Linked DNA regions of Homo sapiens: region 1 is linked to region 2. The links are contacts of gene promoters, found by promoter capture Hi-C in human tissues and cell types (Jung and others, 2019). All regions are on one chromosome and are shown on one strand. Each heading gives the region's core, a stretch centred on a gene start or on the middle of the fragment in contact. The rest is flanking DNA. Distances are from core to core; before and after follow the strand shown.

Evidence for each region. The method cuts DNA at HindIII sites, captures the fragments that hold promoters and counts their contacts. A contact is called where the count stands out against the background at its distance.
Region 1: a contact is called between a fragment that was not itself captured here and the fragment with the promoter of DDX47 in region 2, in 1 of the 25 tissues and cell types used here (dorsolateral prefrontal cortex).

Annotation. Positions count from the first base shown.
Region 1 is chr12:14,054,143-14,061,765 of GRCh38, forward strand. No RefSeq gene overlaps it. Among named protein-coding and RNA genes, the nearest start is that of GRIN2B, 76 kb to the left of the region's middle. The HindIII fragment of the contact is 3,729 bases long and covers 1,721-5,449 here.
Region 2 is chr12:12,807,570-12,814,886 of GRCh38, forward strand. It overlaps DDX47 (DEAD-box helicase 47), which reads left to right and starts at 5,777. Exons shown (of 12, transcript NM_016355.4): 1 at 5,777-5,885; 2 at 6,562-6,655. The coding sequence starts at 5,799. RefSeq lists an enhancer at 5,604-5,913. The HindIII fragment of the contact is 22,330 bases long and covers 1-7,317 here.

The DNA of each region.
Region 1 (7,623 bases), core at 2,335-4,834, 1.2 Mb after region 2:
TTTCTGGGAGCCATCTTTACTCGTCTCTGTCCCAGTGGCCATAGCTACTTAGTCCAAAAATAGATACCTAGTACAAGTTGGGCAATCAACATCTCTCTAAGGTAAATATGAAATATTGACTGGAGGCCCAGAAACTAAAACCTTTGAGAACTGAGTCTGTTGAATGGTAGTGTTCTGGAAGGAAATCTATCACTACCCTGAGGTTCCAGAGCTATGCTGGTCCCTGCCCTTCCTTAAGAGCGGGTGTTCGACTCCTCATTAGACTGTGTCACATATTCTGATATTCTTCCAACCTATCTTTGGCCGAATGGAAGCCCATGGCTAACCCCTAAGGACTCCTCAGGGGACAGTGGCCTCTGCTCTTCTCCTGTTCAGGAGTCAGAAGGGAGCAGCTGTCCAGGAAGATAATCTCATTTTATGAGGAGATCAAAAAAGTTGGCATCTCATGGTTCTTCATTGTTTCATCTGCTGCCCAAATCACTGCTAACATCAAATAAAAGTAAATCTCTGTCAGTAATGATTTAACTGATAAAAGCTCTTCCCGTCCCTACTGCTCCACACTCTTATCATATAGACACATGGAAGCAGGGTTTATTGGAGGAATATTAGAATATGTGACAGAATCTAATGAGGAGTCAAACACACCTACTCTTTAGGAAGAGCAGGACCAGCATAGCTCTAGGACCTCACAGTGGTGATAGATTTCCTCCCAAAACACTACCATAAAGCAGACTCACTTCTCAAAGATTTCAGTTTCTGGGTCTCCATTCAATATTCTGTATTTACCACGGGGAAACATCGATTGCCCAACTTGTACTAGTTGTCTATTCTTAGACTAAGTAGCTATGGCCACTGGGACGGAGACAAGTAATAACAGAAAGATGACTATCAGAACTCTGTGCTCTTCACATCCACCTGTTGGTGACGTTGCGTGTAAATGATGATACCTATAGTTGATTTCTCAGGAAACAGGGCACACGGTGGTCTGTGGCACTGTGTACAAGGTCTTTTCCCCACTGCCTACCAAGGGAGGTGTGGCCATTATACAACCTTGTTTTCTGTGACATCAAAAATCTATACTCCTCTACATATAACTGTAATATTCTAATTTTGTATAAGAAAGCTTACTTTTAAAAGCAGGAATCTTACATAATTACCACAATTCAGGACCCAGCAAAAAGACTGCAGGTAACAAAGTCATTTTCTATTCTATTTGCACATGGAAAGGTGAATGCTGTGAAATAGCTCCTGAGGGCATCTTGTTTTCAATAAGAGCTCACACAGTCCACAGCTAAATTCCACCTATTTCATTCAGGAGAAGTCTGGGAATTGATTTGGTTTTGTTACTAAAAAAGAAAAATTATCTTAGTAAATGTCCAGCAAATGAGAATTAGAGAACTTTACAATGTCATGGTAATATTTGCAAAGGATGAGTTAGAATAAAATTAAGTGCCTCATTGCCAGATGTTAATGTGCTTGGGTCTCTTTTTGGCTCTTTAAAAAATATAAACAAGGCATTTGAGTAAATTTAAATATTAAAGAAGTTGGGGTCTTTTAGTAAACAGTTTCAAGCTGCAACCCACAGATTGACAGCAAATATTCACCTTTGGATAAGAGCAAAGTCCCTGATTCTGATCATATTAGAACTTTTTCCTCCATTTTCAGAAACCAAAATGTTGAGTTTTCTGAAAAAGTTACGATTTACATAAACCATCGATTTACTTCAACTCCTTGTTAAATGGAAAAAGGGAGAAAAGGGAAATAATTATACAAATATAAAAGTGGAAATGTTTTTAATCCCATTCTACCAATCCTGAAGTTTAAAAGAAGTTTCCTAAAATTGAACTAAAACATGTATCATTTTTAGTTTTAGTAATCCCAAAGAGACCACATTTCATATATAACATCTCTATTCAAGTTAAAAAAATCAAACAAAAATTTCTAGACAAAAACTGTCCCTTTAGCACTTTCATTAAAGTTAAAACCATTTCTTTTAAAATGAGCAATTACATACTGATAATAGAACCCTGTGTATATTGTGTAATATGTACATTTTTGTACATTATATGATGGATAAAGACTACATAGATACCAAAAACATTCCAAGAAAGGGTTAAATTTGGTCAGTGGAAACTGCCATTCTTTCAACAACCTATGCTCATGACCTGTGAATCATTTTTCTTTCATTTATTCACTCACTCCTTTACTTACACTTTCACTCAGAAACATTTACTGATGGCTACAGTATACAGTACCAGGCAATGTGCTAAGCACTGGGGATGAAGAGAATTAAAATACAGGCTTCCATCCTCAGAAGCTTACACTCTGATCATGGGAACTTTCCACTCTCTTACTCCCTACATCCGATCATGAAAATTGACATAAATGTCTTTTCTTTCCATCTCTTCCTTGCCTCCGTCATGATCAAGGTCATTATCTTCGCAGCTGAATGGTTAAAATGGTTTTCCAATTGGACTTCCCACATCTAGCGTCTTCTCTCTCCACAACTTCTTTATACCATTATGTCATTCAGCTTACAAAAAGATTGATCTGATTTTGTCGCATTCCTGCACAAAAGTCTTCACAGTAGCTCCCCCACTTTCCCCAGGGAAAAGATTAACTCCACATTTCAACTAGTATTATCAATATTGCTAATAATTGCTTACTATTAGCAATTAGGCACTGTGCTAAACACTTTATGCATTATTTCATTTACTTCTCATGACTGCCTCTTAAGGCAAGAACTGTCACCTTCATTTTATAAATGAGAAAAATGAAGCCAAGAGGTGATCAATGACTTTTCCAAGGTCACACAGAGAGTAGGTAGCAGACTGACACCAAAATGCATATTCTTAACCACTCACGGACCCAGCATTCTGCTCTTGATTCAGTCTTAACTCTGTGCAAGCTTTGCCTCTGTGCAACCTTTGCTCCTGCTAGGCATCCCATGCACCTGTTCTTTACCTTCTCCATGCCTTCTAAATCCTATTAATATTCATTCAAAGCCCAATTTAAGTCCCCTCTCCTCTGTGAACTTGTCCTAGACCAGTCTAGTCTGCATGCTATTTTCTCTGCCACTCATTTGGCACTGAGAGATGTTCTGTACCATAGTTTTTACATAAATATCTCATATGTCTCAGGTACAACAATGAAAATCTATTAAGAGAATTTAGAGACAGAGTCTCACTCTGTCACCCAGGCTGGAGTGCAGTGGCTCACTGCAACCTCCACCTCCCATGCTCAAGCAATTCTCCCACATCAGCCTCCCGAGTAGCTGGGACTACAGGTGCACATGACCACACCAGGCTAATTTTTGTATTTTTATTTTAAGTAGAGACAGGATATCACCATGTTGGCCAGGCTGGTCTCAAATTCCTGACTTCAAATGATTTGCCTGCCTTGGCCTCCCAAAGTGCTAGTATTAAGCCACAACACCCAGCCCCTCCTAGATTCTTAATGAATATTTGCAGTTTTTGTGGTGCTACTCACATAACACACACTCAATAAATTAACGTTACATGAGCGAATGAAGAGTTTAGAGGGAAGTCTATCACCGTTTAAGTGATTTTGATGCAGAAAACATTCTCCTGCCATGATTGGTGAAAAAGGTGGGTGTCTGAGGTGCTGTATTTCTCTTTCCCAGCATGTCATAGAGAACAGAAACTCCCAGGACGTTACAGGACTTCCCCAAATCCTGCCCAAGTATTCAGACCAAAAAGGATTATTAAAAAATCCCTGTCCTGATCCTCAGTCTGAATAAGATCTATGTGAAACTTTAGCCCCGGGGTCTTAGCAAGCTCCGAGATAAAAATGATGGACTTCCCAAACATTTGACAGTAACACAGTCTGGTTATGACCCGGTGATTACAGAGGCTGAAGATTCCCACTCTCTCCTCAAACTGCAAGGAATGGTTTTAATTATAGCTCCAATCTAAGCCACTTGGAGGCGTCTGGGAACCACAGAGCTCCCAGCATGCTAGCCGTGTCCTTGCAAACTGATACCCCCTCACTATGCATGGTGGAAAAGGTTGACTATCCCGCATGCAATATCGGAGGTTGGCCAACTGGACAGTGATCTCCAGTTGCTCATCTTATTAGTGGAAAAGCCTGCCCAGTAGCAAGACAATACAAAATACCTGACACCATCCTTATCTTTGGGAATTAGCAGCAGAGCAGGGTCCATGCCTTCACTTCTTTGCTAAGAAAAACAACATGGTGTATGACTTGACAATGGAAGATTCTGGACAGAGCCTAAGATGGCTTAAAGTAAGCATTGTTTTTTCTGAGGAAGGGAAGAAACAGAAGCTTGAGGCATGTTGGATACATGTTCTCTGGAAGAGAACTGATAATACATTACATTTGGAACTAGACTTTTCGGTTTTCAAAGTGGTTTCATAAAGTGTTATATGACCTCAGCATCTATCAACCCTAGATGGCTTGGGCAGCTTACATATCCTCCATTCAACACAGGTGGTAAGAAGACCCCTAAGGGTTGCTGGGGATCTCACAGTTAGTGATTGTCAGAGCCAGGGCTAGAACATTTTAGTCTCTCACATTGCCTCTAGCTGCAGGGCCAGTCACATCACATGGTTATTTCCCAAGACTGAAGGAGTTGTAATATAAAATTGCTTGGTTAGGTTGGTTCTTTTTTTTTTTTTTTGCTTCCATTCCTGTTTCAATTTGCTCACTTTCTATTCCTTCCTTCCCACCTTCCTAGGCCACCCCCTCCCTCCCCCGACACACTGTCTCTCCTAAGCTTGCTTCAGATGCTACTTCACTGGCAGCCTTGGCTGCAAATCTCCTAGACTCACAGCCAACACTTGGAGCTCACAGATTACAGAGCTGTGTCCTCAGACTGCCTGTTGCTTTTTCTCAGGGTTGGATGAATTGCTTTCTTTTTTTTTTTTTAAAGGAGGAGAAGTGTTGGAGAGGAGAGGAAAAGAATTGAATAATTCTAGAATTAACAGCAATTTATTTTTACCCAAAGAAGGCCCCAAATTATCTAATGCTAACTCCTTAGGTTTGTGACGGACAAGTCAGAGACATTGGCAGGGGGGTAGGAGGGAATACCCCAGGATAAAATGCTTTCAGTGTTATGGCATTTTGTTCTAACTTACTGGCTATATTAGTCTGTTCTCACTGCTATAAGGACATAAAGGAGATTAGGTAATTTATAAAGGAAAGAGGTTTAATTGACTCACAGTTCTGCATGGCTGGGAAGGCCTCAGGAAACTTACATTCATGACGGAAGGCAAAGGGGGAGCAAGGCACCTTCTGCACAAAGCAGCAGGAAGGAGAAGTGCTGAGCAAAGGAGAAAGAGCCCCTTATAAAACCAACAGATCTTGTGATAACTCACTTATTATCAGGAGAACAGCACGGCGGAAGCCAACCCCATGATTCAATTACTTCCACCTGGTCACTCCCTTGACACATGGGGATTATGGGGATTATAGGAATTACAATTCAAGATGAGATTTGGGTGGGGACACAAAGCCTAACCGTATCACTGGCCAACATCTTAGCACCTAATGAGAAAGATAGAAACAGAGCTCTCATATTACTCAGACAGTTTACTGCCAAATTGTGAGCAAGAGTCATCAGAGGGGGGGTGAGACATGCAGGGAGCTGTCAATCAGCTTCTCTGACTACCATTAAATTCACACTTGCACACAAAGCACATATGAGCAGTGAAAAGGGAACAAGAGGAAATCTGAAGGCTAAATTGTCATTCTCCCCAGAGGGAGAAAAGTTCTGAAACTATCAAAGCGAAGGTTCTACTTTGATCTTCTCTTTCTTTCACATCAAAATTGTCCACACAGCTCCTGCCATGACCAACACTTCCACTGAGTTTCTCAAGGAGAAATGGCGACACAGCCCTCCTGTGCTTCCCGAGGAATAAAGACTGTACCTGAACTGAGCATTGCTGTGGGATCCGCTTGTTGCTGGCAGGCTAATAAGAGAAAAGATTCACTACTGTGAATCAAGTAAATAAACATGCCTAGGAAATACTATGGCAGCAGATAACACTGAGAGAAAAATGAGAATCAGTACTATTTTTAGTGGCAGCTTTCTGATGATAATTGTACTTGAAGAGAAACTAGCGTGAACAATATAAAGGCAAAGTTAATTTCAGATCCTAAGCTTGCTGTACTGTTCTTGGATTATTTGAAATACAATGTAATCCACAGTCATTTTAACTGTGTGACAAGGAAATCTGGGGACACCTTAAGTAGCTGCTGGGAGGCTCGGGGGTAAATGAGAGTGGAGGAAAGTTGATCATAGAAACATATTTTACTTTTAAAATATCTTATAGAGTGTATCCCCTGCTCCCTTTCAGGCTAACATTTGCTGGAGACTTATGTTCCAGGTACTGTGTTAACTACTCTAGTGAGAATGATCTCATTTAATTCTCACAGCCTTGTGAGGTAGATGTTATTGTTTCCATCTTACAGAAGCCATGCAGCTTGTAAAGATGGAGCTAGAATTTTTAACCCAGTCTTTCTGACTCTAGAGTCAAATCACTGTGCTAGTGTAGATGGAGAAAGGAGATTCTGGGGCTCAAAAAACAATGCCTCCTAATGAGGGTCCCAACAGCAGCTTCAGAAGCAAAACCTTTTCTGTCACCTTCTCCTGCCTTCATCCCTCTCAGTCCCATTCTCCCCCCAGGCTAGCCATAGAAACTAGAATTTCTCTTCCCCAACATGGGACATAGAAGCCAGAATCCCTTTTTCCTAAAGCCAGTCATAAAACCTAAAAAATCACTCTAACTTTCCCTCCACCTTATCTATGTAAAAACCAGCCATAAAGAAATTATCTGACCTAACTTGTTTGATGATCGGTCATAAGATCCCCATTCCAGAGAGGGTCCTGCTGCACACCCAGAAGGAAGAAATGCATGCTCAGAGAGGCCAAGAAGAATCTAGACAGACAGGCCTTGCTGGGTGTCCCCAGTGTCTATTAGCATTCAATCATGCCTTTTTTGTCCAACCATATTTCTATAATAGAAGGCTGCCTCATATTTTGTTGAACCTCAGCATAAAAATGGACAATTTCCCCTGTCTTTGGGTCTTTATTCTGAAGACTCCTGTGTATATACATTAAATAAATGTGTACACCTTTTCTCCAATTAATCTGTCTTTCATGAGTTGGTTTTCAGTGAACCTTCAGTGGGCCAAAGTGAAAGCTCTCCTTTGGCCCCCACAGTGATAATTCACCCTTCTACTTTCTGTCATTTGCTATAAAAAAGAATCATGCCCTAATACTTGCGCTGACCTACACATCCATCCCTGAGAACAGGACCCAGGGCTGCTGATGTGAGCAGAGCTGTCTCAGTGAGCCAGAGGTAATGATGGCTACAGCCTTCCCAGCACAACTGGAGTGCCTCCCTGTGGATCTACACAACCAGGGTCCCTCTCTCATCCTGAGTCCAGGCCCCGGCTTCACGGCACAACTCCTGTCATCACTTTATCCAGATCAGAACCCTGAGACACAGGCTGTCAGGGCCCACTCTAACCACAACTCTGCCATCGCCCATGGAGCAGGATGGCTCGGAGAGTCTTCCACAGTCTACAAAACTCAGTCTCTCCTTCCTTTTCCTGCCCTTAAGCTACAAAGTAGCCAGA
Region 2 (7,317 bases), core at 4,527-7,026:
GCTACTTGGGAGGCAAAGGTTGCAATGAGCTGAGATCATGCCACTGTCCTCCAGCCTGGGCAACAGAGTGAGACCTCATCTCAAAAAAAAAAAAAAAGGAGGGGGGGCCAGGTGGCTCACACCTGTAATCCCAGTGCTTTGGGAGGCCGAGGTGGGAGGATCACTTGAGTCCAGGAGTTCAAGGTTGCAGTGGCACAATCAGAACTCACTGTACTCCAGCCTGGGCAACAGAGAGAGCCTGTTTCTAAAAACTAAAAAAAAAAAAAAAATTTGTTAACTCGGAGAACAAGTTTTAATACATAACATTAATATATTTATCTGTATACTAATGCAGTTGTAAAATATAATTTTTAATACTTTTTTGTGGAAGAAGAGGTGCATGAAGGCAAAGGAGTCTGGGGCTCATGAAAACCTTTGAGTAAGATGGGGTCAGGCCCTTCGACCTCTCCTTCTGGAGCCCATATATTGTTTCGGGCTTGCTTTTCCTCCCTCATCATTTAGAGTGTTTATTTAGATTTCCTCTTTAACCTTTCTCATTGTTCTGAAAGTACAGGATATGACGTGGCTCAGTGACTAGAATGGACCTCTATTATTTCCATTCCCAGAGTATAAATATCCAAACTGCTTCAACCTGATAGGAATAGTCAAAAGCAGACAATCATCTCGGCTACTGCAGGCTTTCCTCTTTGGAACCCACCTATGGTCATCCTGTCAGTCTGACATGAATCTGGTCACTGGGGTAGGTGCTGTTCCAAGGCCCAAACTTTGCTGGCAGGAACAGACTAAAGAACTGAGCAGCGCTGACGCTGCTGTCACTGCATGCCACATCCTCTTCACGGCCCTCGATACCCTGGGGACACTGACACCAGAGGAAGTTTTAAAAACAGCCTGTGTCTGAATTATCCAAGAACAAACAGAAAAGACTTGCTTGGCTAAAATCAACAGGGTTTGATGTTACAACTGCAGTTGAAAGGCTTAAATCGGTTCTCTTTAAAGCAGCAGGCACCCCCAGACATCTTATGGGTGATTCCTTTTCTTTTCTGTAACGCATTCGAACAAAACTCAGGTAACTTTAGAAGGTATATGATATGCAAATTTATAGACCTTCCAGTTGTTTCCATCTGAGTCCCCTTTTCAGGCTTTTTATCTCTGCTTCCCCTTGCTCCCCAATCAGGATCCTCTCCTCTCAGCTCTTCTTTCCCATTCCACTCTCCTAAATGCAATCACAGGATGAGTCAAGGGGAAGCAAAATAAATACTGCAGCTGCTTTCTCTCTTTGTTTTTACAGAAAAGTCTGTGTGGCTGCTTTTGAAGAAGAAAGCTGCTTTCGATTATGTAAGATGATGCTCTCTTTGGTAAAAGTTTTGGTCTGGTCTCAAGAGACTTGGCTTTTTTTTTTTTTCTTTTTGAGACGGAGTCTTGCTCTGTTGCCCAGGCTGGAGTGCAGTGGCATGATCTCGGCTTGCTGCGACCTCCACCTCCCAGGTTCAAGCAATTCTCCTGCTTCAGCCTCCCGAGTAGCTGGGATTACAGGCTCACAATACCACACCCAGCTAATTTTTGTATTTTTAGTAGAGACGGGGTTTCACCATGATGACCAGGCTGGTCTTGAACTCCTGACCTCAGGTGATCCATCTACCTCAGCCTTCCAGATTGCTGGCATTACAGGTGTGAACCATTGCCCCCAGTCTAAGAGGCTTGGCTTCTATTCTTGTCTCTTGTGATCTTTACTCTTTCTTTACTCTTGTGTCTCTTTACTCTCTGGGACTAGAGTTCCTCCTCTGTCAAAAGAGGAATACAAACTCCCCAGCCGGTCTATGTAACAGAGAAGAGGAAGAGGAAGAGCCCAATTTAGCTGGGTAGATTCTCTTTGGGAGAAGTTGACTTCCCCTTATCCCAAAGCATATGTATTGACTTTGGAGACCATCTAGAGTGGCCCAATTCCAAGTCATAGGAGAATGAGATGGTAGCCATGAGGAGGGCTAAATAGAGAGATGGAATGCCTTAGACTGGGCTAGCATAATTGTATGCCTGTGACTGCCCAATAGAATCAATTTCAGGGTGACCTGTTGTCTTATGCAGTGTGTATTTTCTCTCCTTTCCTGTAACTTGGAGTGAACTAATGTAAAAAGACCAAAGTCCCCAGCCTATTCTGCAGCAGTGTAATCTTTTTTTACTACATATATATGTGTATATATATATATATATACATATATATATAAAATTAAAAAATATATATTTTAGACAGAGTCTCACTCTGTTGCCCAGGCTGGTGTGCAGTGGCACGACCTCGACTCACTGCAACCTCTGCCTCCCAGGTTCAAGCTATTCTCCTACCTCAGCCTCCAAAGTAGCTGGGATTACAGGTGTCCGCAATTATGCCTGGCTAATTTTTGTATTTTTAGTAGAGACAGGATTTCACCATGTTGGCTAGGCTGGTCTTGAACTCCTGACCTCAAATGATCCACCTGCCTTGGCATCCCAAAGTGCTGGGATTATAGGTGTGAGCCACTGTGCCCGGCCAGGAATGTAATCTTAAATATGGAAAAACCTCACTCCCTAAAAAACAAAGAGTGAAGTCCTCTCTGGTCTGCTATGGTTCCTGATCCCAATGCTTTGCTGTTTTACTTCAGCCAGGCAGCATTTCCAGAGCATCCACTTCTTGCCAGGGCCTGTGCTTAGAGCCAGGGGTATGAAGATCATCCCTTGTCTCTTAGATTGTTGGGGACCAGCCTCAACACCACCCGTAGGGTACCCAAAGTCCGGTGGCAACAAAGGAATGAGAAGAGACAGGTTAAGAGTGCATAAAGAGTGGGGGCCGGGGGGCCAATTGCAAAATGGAGGCTGCAAAAGGCCCAGAGTTCTGGTCTTCACTCTATTTATTGAGTACAATCCCTTAGATCTAAGAAGCAGATGTTTAGGGTGAAACAGTGAAAGGGAGGCAGTATGTCATAGGCGTAATCTATAGCAATGGCTGTTTAAATGAGTCTCCTTTGTTCTCAAACAGCATATCTTTAACTTATCGAAGAGTAGCTAGTGGGAGTGGGCTTAACTAGGAGCCTGAACGTCTGTCCACATTTCAATGCTTCAAAGGAGTGTCTTTCTCCTTGAACACAGTGTTTATAGATAAGAGAGCAGGTTGCGCTCAGAGCATGGGAACATAATGGCGATAAGAAGGCTTTCCTCCTCAGAGGCCTTTTGTGACTTGCCACAACTTATTGTCCCATATTTTTATGGCCCGTTTATGCAGGCACCCCACAAGCCCTTTTCCCAACATAGATCAGGGGTCCCCAGCCTCTGGGCCATGGACTGGTGCCAGTCCGTGGCCCGTTAGGAGCTGAGTTGCACAGCAGGAGGTGAGTAGCAGGTGAGCAAGCATTACTACCTGAGCTCCGCCTCCTGGTAAATCAGCTGCGGCATTAGATTCGCTTGGGAGCACAATCCCTATTGCAAGGGATCTAGGTTGCGTGGTTCTTATGAGAATCTAATGCCTGGTGATCTGTCACTGTCTCCCATTACCCCCACATGGAACCATCTAGTTGCAGGAGAACAAGCTCAGGGCTATCACTGATTCCACATTATGGCAAGTTGTACAATTATTTCATTATATATTACAATGTAATAATAATAGAAATAAACTGCACAATAAATGTAATGTGCTTGAATCATCCTGAAACCATCCCCGCCCCAATTCTGTGCAAAAAATGTCTTCCACGAAACCAGTCCTTAGTGCCAAAAAGGTTGGGGACCGCTGTCTTAGATGGTCTCCTTTTCTCACTCTTTCTACAGCCTATCTCCATATAGAGTTAGAGTAATATTTTAAATGTGTAGATCATGTCTCTTCCCTGCTCTAAACCCCCAGTGGCTTCCTTCTGCATTTAGGATAACATCCAAAACCCCAGACCTTTTACAACAGGGTCCTGCAGAGTCTGAGCTGAGCCCAATTCTCTGACCACATCCTACCCTTTTTGTTGTTGAGACACTGCTGTGATGCCTAAATCAGGGCCCTTTTTTAGTTGTGGTGGTGGGGAGGTCGGCAGGCACATTGAGTTGAGTTCCTCACAATTCTCAGGTCAAGCACACTGGCATCACAAGTCTCCTCTCTTGCTTTGTGTATTTATTATCCTTTTTTTTTTTTTTTTGAGACGGAGTCTTGCGCTGTCACTCAGGCTGGAGTGCAATGGCATGATCTCAGCTCACTGCAACCTCCGCCTCCGGGGTTCAAGCAATTCTCCTGCCCCAGCCCCCCGAGTAGCTGGGATTACAGGCACAGGCCACCATGCCTGGCTAATTTTTGTGTTTTTAGTAGAGACTGGATTTCACTATGTTGACCAGGCTGGTCTCGAACTCTTGACTTCAAGTGATCCATCTGCCTTGGCCTCCCAAAGTGCTAAGATACAGGTGTGAGCCACCGCGGCCGGCCTATTGTCTTATACACTTAATTCTTTTATTCCCAATTCCCAGTTTTATTCTAATTCTTCTCCCTCTGCAGGCAACCATTCTAAAATATTTCAAGTGTATCTTCTGTTGGATGTGTTTTAGCAGAATGTGATATCTGTGGGCCTATATTTTAATATACTTGATATATTTTATGCTTTTCTCACTAAGCACTAGGTTTTTCAGATCTAATCATATTGTTAAGGGCATGTTTGTAGACACCATGTTCACATTTTAACTATGCATTTTCCCAGTGACGGACACCAGATTGCCCCCAACTTCCCATCCTCAGGAATAAAACTGCAACGAGCACCCTGCGCAGTGTGAGACCCAAGTGACAGGCCACAGGAGGGCACTCGCTGGCCATGGGGCATGCAACATACAGCTCTGAATTTGCTGCTTTCCAGAATAGCCTTAGTAGCTTCACAGTCTTGGTACTTGGAATTCTCTCACTCTGGAATGATTATCTCCTGGGATCTTAAAGCGTTTTCTCCTGCTCAACAGTGAGGTCTTAACTCAAATATCACTGTCTCAGAGAGGCCTTCCCAATCTCACAGTTATCCCCACAACCCACCCTCCCCAGGTTACTCTGTAATTTTTATGTGAACAGGGTTTCACTCTGTTGCCCAGGCTGGAGTACAGTAGCACCATCTCCACTCACTGCAGCCTCAACTTCCGGGGTCAACTGATCCCTCAACCTCAGCCCCCTGAATAGCTGGGATTACAGGCGCATGCCACCATGCATGCCTGACTGATTTTTGCATTTTGCAGACACAGGGTTTCGCCACGTTGCCCAGGCTGGTCTCGAACTCCTGGGCTCAAGTGATCCGCCCGCCTCGTCCTCCCACAGTGCTGGGGTTACAGGCGTGAGCACACCCAGCTACTTTTCACAATTTGAAATGCTCTGTGATAGCTTATTTATGATCTGTCTTCTTTTTCTTCACGAGGGCAGGGGTCGCTGTCCTATTCACCAGCCATCTAGCATAGCCTTAGCAAATGGTAGGTTCTCAACATTATTGAATAAAGTAATGACATAATAAAAAAATAGTATTGTAATATCAATCCGTTCCAAACTCTATGGTTAGAAAAGCGGGGAACATAACTGGCGACACACGTAGGGAAGGCTCTTTAAAAGGGACCTAAAGGTCAACTGGAGTCCCTGGTGATCAGCCCCTTCTGCACTCGGATCTATTCCGCAAGCCTACGCGCCCATATTCACTGGGCCCCACCTGCCTAGCGGACGGGTGCAATCCCCGGCAAGCCCGCAGGGGGCGCGCAGAGCACGTCGTCCGGGGAGAACTAAAACTACATTTCCCAGCATCCCGCGCGCCGCAGACCCACTTCCGGAGACCTCACACAAGATGGCGGCACCCGAGGAACACGATTCTCCGACCGAAGCGTCCCAGCCGATTGTGGAAGAGGAGGAAACTAAAACATTTAAAGACCTGGTGAGAATGGATGACGCTGGCTTCTTTTATGTACTCTGGTGCTAGGCTCAGGGAGACCCCAGGTACCTTAGATCCCGCTCTGATAGTGTACAAAAGCATCTTGGGGCCTAGCTTGGGTTTTCCCCAGAATTTCAGAGGGCTGGGTTTCGGACGTGCTCTGAGTTTGGGTGGTGGGAGGGCTGCTGGGCCCTGAGACCCCCTATTTGCCCTATTCGCCACTTTAGTGTGGCAACGTTTGTATGTGCATCCAGGAGGTTGTACATATGGGGAATGGAATTGGTCTCTTTATAACTGGAGCTTTGGAGTCAGATGAACCAACCAGATTTGAATTTTGACACAGTCTCTTACTGAGGACAAGTTGTTACCTCTCTGTGTTTCTCTTTCCACATCTGTAAATTGGGGATAGTAATAAGTACTTACCTCGCAGAATTGTTGTGACGATTAAATGAGATGATACATGTAAAGCACCTGGCCTTGGCCTTGGTGAGCAGAAAGTGTTCGTTAAGTCTTGAGCTACTGTCTCATGGTATAGTTAAAGAGTAGGCTCTGAGATGCACAGTAAATACCTTTTAAATCAAATACAATGGTTGTACATGATGGGTCTGACAGTCAGTTAAGTAGGAGGGAGGTAGGGGTGTGCTGTTCTTGGCTAAGGTATATTTTTCTGAATTCCAAGGGTGTGACAGATGTGTTGTGTGAAGCTTGTGACCAGTTGGGATGGACAAAACCCACCAAGATCCAGATTGAAGCTATTCCTTTGGCCTTACAAGGTAGGTTGTATGACTTCGTACAGATTTAATATAAAGTTATCTCAATTAGATACCCCTTTTGAAAGCTGTTGCTTGCATACTTCAAGTGAAATAAGGATATGGTCACTAAAGGTACAAAGTTTGGGTAATGGTATTTGAAAATGTCATTCTCCAATTTTACTGAGCTTACTTTCTGTCTTAATAGCTGAAAGGGTTTGTTCTCTGCCACAGATGCTGACTTTAAGGAAGCCCTAGGTTAAAGTTAAAGTATATTAACGACAATCTTGGTAGACTTTATGCATCAGTGGGCGCACACTTAGGGAAGGATGCCTGGAACACATATGTGTGTCTTGAGGAGTTGAGAATTCTTGCTGTGAGCCATGTTTATCAGATTTGTAAAACAGTGGTTAAAGCAGATTGATGGCTACTGGAACTGAAACTAATGGGATGAACTTTTTTCTTTTTGAGATCTTTTTTTTAAGATGGAGTTTTTTTTGAGATAGAGTTTCGCTCTGTCGCCCAGGCTGGAGTGCAGTGGTGCGGTCTTGGCTCACTGCAACCTCTGCCTTCCAGGTTCAAGCAACTCTCCCGCCTCAGCCTCCCAAGTAATGGATTACAGGCGCATCACCATGTCCGGCTAATTTTGTATTTTTAGTAGAGATGGGGTTTCAGCATGTTGGCCA